2 separate regions of the Homo sapiens genome follow, and region 1 is linked to region 2. Evidence: promoter capture Hi-C in human tissues and cell types (Jung and others, 2019). All regions are on one chromosome and are shown on one strand. The core of a region is centred on a gene start or on the middle of the fragment in contact, and the rest is flanking DNA. Distances in the headings are between cores, read along the strand shown. Region 1 overlaps ADARB1 (adenosine deaminase RNA specific B1). Region 2 holds the start of ADARB1 (adenosine deaminase RNA specific B1).

Evidence for each region. The method cuts DNA at HindIII sites, captures the fragments that hold promoters and counts their contacts. A contact is called where the count stands out against the background at its distance.
Region 1: a contact is called between a fragment that was not itself captured here and the fragment with the promoter of ADARB1 in region 2, in 2 of the 25 tissues and cell types used here (mesendoderm cells and thymus).

What each region holds. Positions count from the first base shown.
Region 1 is chr21:45,214,997-45,217,696 of GRCh38, reverse strand. The region is part of intron 9 of ADARB1 (adenosine deaminase RNA specific B1); the gene reads right to left. Among named protein-coding and RNA genes, the nearest start is that of LINC00334, 18 kb to the left of the region's middle. The HindIII fragment of the contact is 3,297 bases long and covers 1-2,700 here.
Region 2 is chr21:45,073,276-45,075,975 of GRCh38, reverse strand. ADARB1 (adenosine deaminase RNA specific B1) reads right to left here and starts at 1,396. Exons shown (of 11, transcript NM_001112.4): 1 at 1,183-1,396. It overlaps LOC105372836 (a long non-coding RNA gene), which reads left to right and starts at 2,235. Exons shown (of 5, transcript XR_937796.3): 1 at 2,235-2,503. RefSeq lists silencers at 1,443-1,642, 1,663-1,752. The HindIII fragment of the contact is 7,799 bases long and covers 1-2,700 here.

The DNA of each region.
Region 1 (2,700 bases), core at 177-2,676, 140 kb before region 2:
ATGATACCAAAATGGAAATCCAGATCTATACAAAGAATGAAGAGCCCTGGAAATGATAGCTACATGGATAAATATACAAGAGGTTTTTTTCTTATTATTTAAATTCCTTTAAAAGATAATTATTAAGATGAAAATAATAAGATGTGGATTTTTTTAACACATGCAAAAGTGTCTGAAAACAATACCACAAAGGTTGGGAATGGAAAAACGAAAGTATCCTGTTGTAAGGTTCTTTTACTATATGTGAAGTAGTATAATATCACTTGAAGGGAGATCGTGGTAAGAATGCATACTATAAACCCTAAAAACCACCACCAAATTAACAAAAGTTACAGCTCAAAAGTCAAGAAGGAGTCAAAATGGAATCATCAAACACACCCAATTAAGGCAAAAGCAGTAAGAAAATGAGGAAAAAGTGAACAAAGAACATATGAAACACGTAGAAAATAAGTAGCAAGATGAAATTTAAACCTAATAATATCAATAATCACAATAAATGTAAATGGTCTAAGTACCTCAGTGAAAAGGCAGAGATTGTCCATGGTGGGAGAGAGAAGCAAGATCCAAACATATAAATATATATAAATATATGTCTATAAGAAACATATTTTTAAGATAAAGTACTTTAATATAAAGGGATAGAAGATACACTGTGCTAACACTAATCAAAAGAAAGTTGAGGAGGTTATATTAATCTCAAAACAAATTTCAGAACAAACACTATTACCAGAAATAAAGAGGGTCATCATATAATGGTAAAGGAGGTCGGTTTATTAAGATAAACCAACAATCCTACATTTTTATGCATCTAATCACAGAGCTACAAAATACAGGAAGTAAAAACTCTAAAAAAGGGGAAGAAATAGATAATGTACAATTATAACTAAGAGATTTTCAATCCTGCCTCTCAATAACTGATAGACCAAGTAGAAGATCGGTAAGAATATAAAAGAAAATAAATAGTATAATCAAACAACTTGGCCTAATCAACATTTACAGATCACTCTACCCCAAAGTGGCAGATTCACATTCTTTCAAGTTTTGTGGAACACTTATAAAGATAGATCATATTCTGGTCCATAAAACCAAGTCTAATAAATTTAAAAGGACTGAAGTCATTAAATGAAACTAAAAAACCAACAACAGAAAGATCTCTGTAAAATCCCTAGTATTTTGAAACTAAATAGCAGACTTCTAAATAACCCAAGGGACAAAGTATTTTAATATAAGTGAAAATGAAAACATATCATAATTTTTAAATGCTACAAAAGCAGTAAAAAGGGTCTTAAAACAATGACCTCAACTAGCACCTTAAAAAACTACAAAAAGATGGGCAATTGAAACACCAGGTAAGCGGAAAAAAAAGAAATAATTAAAATCAGAGTAAAAATTATTGAAATATAAAACAAAAGACAAAAATCACTGAACCTAAAAGTTGGCACTTAGAGACAAACAGAATTGAAAAACTTCCAGCTAGACTGATCAGAAAAAAACAACCAAGAGAAGATACAAATCATCAATATAAGGGATAAGACGATATCATTAGAGATATCACAGATATTAAAATGAATATTCTGAATGCTTTTATGCCAATATATTAGACAAATTAGATGAAATGGACAAATTCCCTGAAAGACAAATTACTGAAGCTTACTCAAGAAAAAAGATAAAAACAGATAACATGAATAGCCCTAAATCTATTATAGAAAAATAAATTGTAGTTAGAATTTTCTTACAAAGCAAACTTCAGGCCCAATGGTTTCACTGGTGAATTTAACCATATATTTAAAGAAATAATACCAAATCCAAACAAACTCTTCCAGAAAACTGAAGAGAAAGAAATGCACCCCAACTCATTTTATGCCTGACAAAGACATTAAACTAAAATGATAGCCCAATATCCCTACAGACAAATATAAATACAAAAATTCTAAATGAAATTTTAGCAAACTGAATCCAACAATATATAAAAAGAATAGCACATAATAACCATATAACGTTTATCCCAAGATGCAAAGTTGGTTTAATTTTTTTTTAACGTCACCACTAGCAAACTGAAAAATGAACTAAATGCTCATCTCATTTTTTGTTGTTGTTGTTTCAGATGGGGTCTCACTACATTGCCCAGGATGGCCTCAAACTCCAGGGCTCAAGTGATCCTCCTGCCTTAGTTCCCAAGTAGCTGGGACTATAGGCCTAAGTCACTGCAATGACAACAGTCATCTAAGAGCAGAAAAAAAGCATCAGACAAAATCCAGCATACATTCTTGATTAAAAACGCTGAGTAAGCTATAAATAGAAAAAAAAAATGTCTTGAGCTGATAAAGACATCTGTAAAAAACCTACAGCAGCCAGATATGGTGGATCATTCCTATAATCTCAGCACTTTGGGAGACTGAGGCAGGCGGGTTGCTTGAGGCCAGGAGTTCAAGACCAATCTGGGCAACATAGGAAGACATTGTCTCTATAAAAAATTTAAAAATGAACCAGGCATGGTGGCATGCACCTGTAGTCCCAGCTACTCAGGAGGCTGAGACAGGAGGATCACTTGGGCCCAGGAGTTTCAGGTTACAATGAGCTATGATCACGTTACTGCACTCCAGCCTGGGTGAAAGAGTGAGACCTTGTCTCTAAAACAAAAAACAGCAATAAAAAATCCTACAGCCAACATCATACCTAATGGTGAAAGACTGAATGTGT
Region 2 (2,700 bases), core at 147-2,646:
TACATATTTGTATTCTCAATTAAAAAAACTACGGTTCTATCATCTTAATTATGGAGTTAAACGTTAAAGAAACAAGTTTGATATCATGCCACTTTTCGTTATACTTCGAGAACGGAATGCAATAATGGTTAGTAAGAAGGAAGTAAAATGCCTGTATCAGAAGTAACAGCCCAAACCTGCTGACCAAAAATATTAACTGGGAACTAAACACCACGGTGCAGATCTCCGACATAGAAACCTGGACAGGAACACGTTTTAGGTTAGGTTTTCCAGCGTGTAAATCGGGACTCCAACACGTTTCAGCGTCCACAGCCCAATCTGACACCTTCCCTCGCACCCATCCACCACGCAATAATTTTCCTTCTGATGTGAACACGTCAAAAGTCACCTCGGGCCCCCAACTGCCCCAGATTGCTCCCGATCGCTGCAGACGCCCGGCACCCGCAGGAACTTCCCTGGCCCGGGCCGCCCGCGGCGCAGAGCATCCCGCGCGGACACTGCGCCCTCGGAAGGACACGCAGGACCGTCCAGGGCGCAGACTCGTCCCCAACGCAGTCTCCACTCCCGTGGCACAGCGTCCCCTCCCAAGGCAGCCTCCCCTGCCCGGGCCCAGCCTCATCCCGGGCGCAGCCTGCCGTCCCCCGGCGCAGCGTCCCATGCCGGGCGGAGCGTCTCCCCAGGGACATAGCCTACCGTCCCCAGGCGCAGCCTTGTTGCCAACGCAGCCTCCCGTTCCCCGGCGCAACCTTGTACCCGGGGCAGCCTCTGGTCCCCGGGCGCAGCCTCGTCCCCAGCGCAGCCTCCGATCTCCAGGGCACACCGTCCCCTCCCCAAAACGCAGTCTCGGTCCCCAGGGCGCAGCCTCGTCCCGGCGCACCTGCCCTCCCCGCGGCGCAGCGCGGCGCATCCCACGCGGACTCGGCGCCCTCGGGAGGGGACGCGGGGCCGCCCGGGCGCAGCTTCCTCCGGGAGCCGAGCGCCGGAGCAGACGGGCGACCCAGGAGGGTGGGTGCGAGGCGGTGCCGCGGCACCCTCGCTTCTCCGCGGGCGCCCTCCGCTCCCGGGACGGCCCGCAGCTCCGGCCCCACCACCAGTCCCTGCCCGGCGCTTACATAAACGCCGCCACCGCGGGGTCCGGAGCCCGCGCCCGCCCGAGCCGCCGCGGCCCCGCGCCGCCCTCACCTCAGCCGCAGCCGCGCCGCGCCTGGTCCTCCGCACGCGCGCCCCACGCTTCGGCCGCAGTCTCGCGCCGGGCGGCGCTCTGCCTCGTTGGTTGTGCGCAGCGGCGCGGCGTGGCCGTGGCCTCGCGCGGCCCGGAGCCCCGGCCGCCAACCTGGCCGCTTGGCCGCCGCTGCCGCCGCCGCCGCCGCCGCCGCCACGGCCGCCTCAGCGCCTCAGCCCCGCCGCCGGCGGCTCCGCCCCCTCCCCGCCCCCGCCGGCCCGCCGGGCGCGCGCACGCCGAGGGGGCGGGGGCGGCGCAGCGACGCCGGACGTGCGCGCGCTGGGGCGCCCGTGTCTGTCGTGGGCAGCCGGAGCTGTGGCACCTCCCTCACGACCACCTGCGGCGGACGGGCGCGGGGCCGTTGGGGCTGGAGCGCGGCCGGAGCTGAGAGACCGCGGCTGGGCGGCTCCGGAGCGTGGGGCGAGAGCGCGGGACCGGCCTGGCGTCGCGGCGCCGCCCGCCCGAGCGCGGCTGAGGAGACTCTGCCCGCCTTCGTTTTGGGGACGGGGTCTCACTGTCGCCCAGACTGGAGCGCGGTGGACCTCCGAGCTCACGCGATCCTGCCGCCTCAGCCTCCCTGGTAGCTGGGACCGCAGGCGCCCGGCGATTGGCGTTTGCGTTTTGCGGAGGTGGCGTCTCGCGGTGCTGCCCAGGCTCCCGGGCCCCCGCGCTCCTCCCTGCAGCGGGCGCTGCCCCCGCCGAGCCCCCGCCGAGCCCCCGCCGAGCCCCCGCCGAGCCCCCGCCGAGCCCCCGCCGAGCCCCCGCCGAGCCACCCCTGCTTCTCCCTCTCCCGGAGTTGCCTGGGACACGCGGGTCCCGCCGGCCCCCTCTCCCCGCCCGTCATCCTCACTGTAGACTCCGGGAGAACCAGGTCGCGGCCCAGGACCCTGGCTGGACACGGTTCCCGCCGTCTCCTGTTTAGTCCGCACTGACACTAGCAGCTGCTCCAGTTACCAACGTTTAGGTGATGGTGGTTTTGTTTGATTTTTTTTGTTTGTTTGTTTGTTTTAGGTTGATAGTAAAAGCATTTTTTTATAGCATATGCAATAGACCTACTCTTCGATTTATCTATATTTACTGACTGTTCCACAGTTATACCAAGAAATGTTTACACAGATGATGATAAGCATATGTAGAAATGCAACGTTTTCACTGACCGGAATAACCAGCTCCAGGCTGCAGTTCTCTGCACGAAGATAAAGTTTGATAGGCAAACTTGGCAGCTCCTGACCGCGGCGACCTGAGCCCAGAGGAGCAGCCGGGGGCGGTGGGCAGAGCCAGGTGTGGACAAGCGGGTGGGTCCCGCACCTGGGTGGGGGAAGCGGCAGGTTCCAGGGTCAAATTGAGGTTGTACTAGCCCTGGCCTCCAAACCTCAGGCGGCCCACTCTGCCCTCGGCCTCTTTCCTCCCTTGTAAAGTGGGGAGTAAGAGACCATCGCAAGCCAGGGATGGGGTGGCGCACACTGTGATCTCAGCCA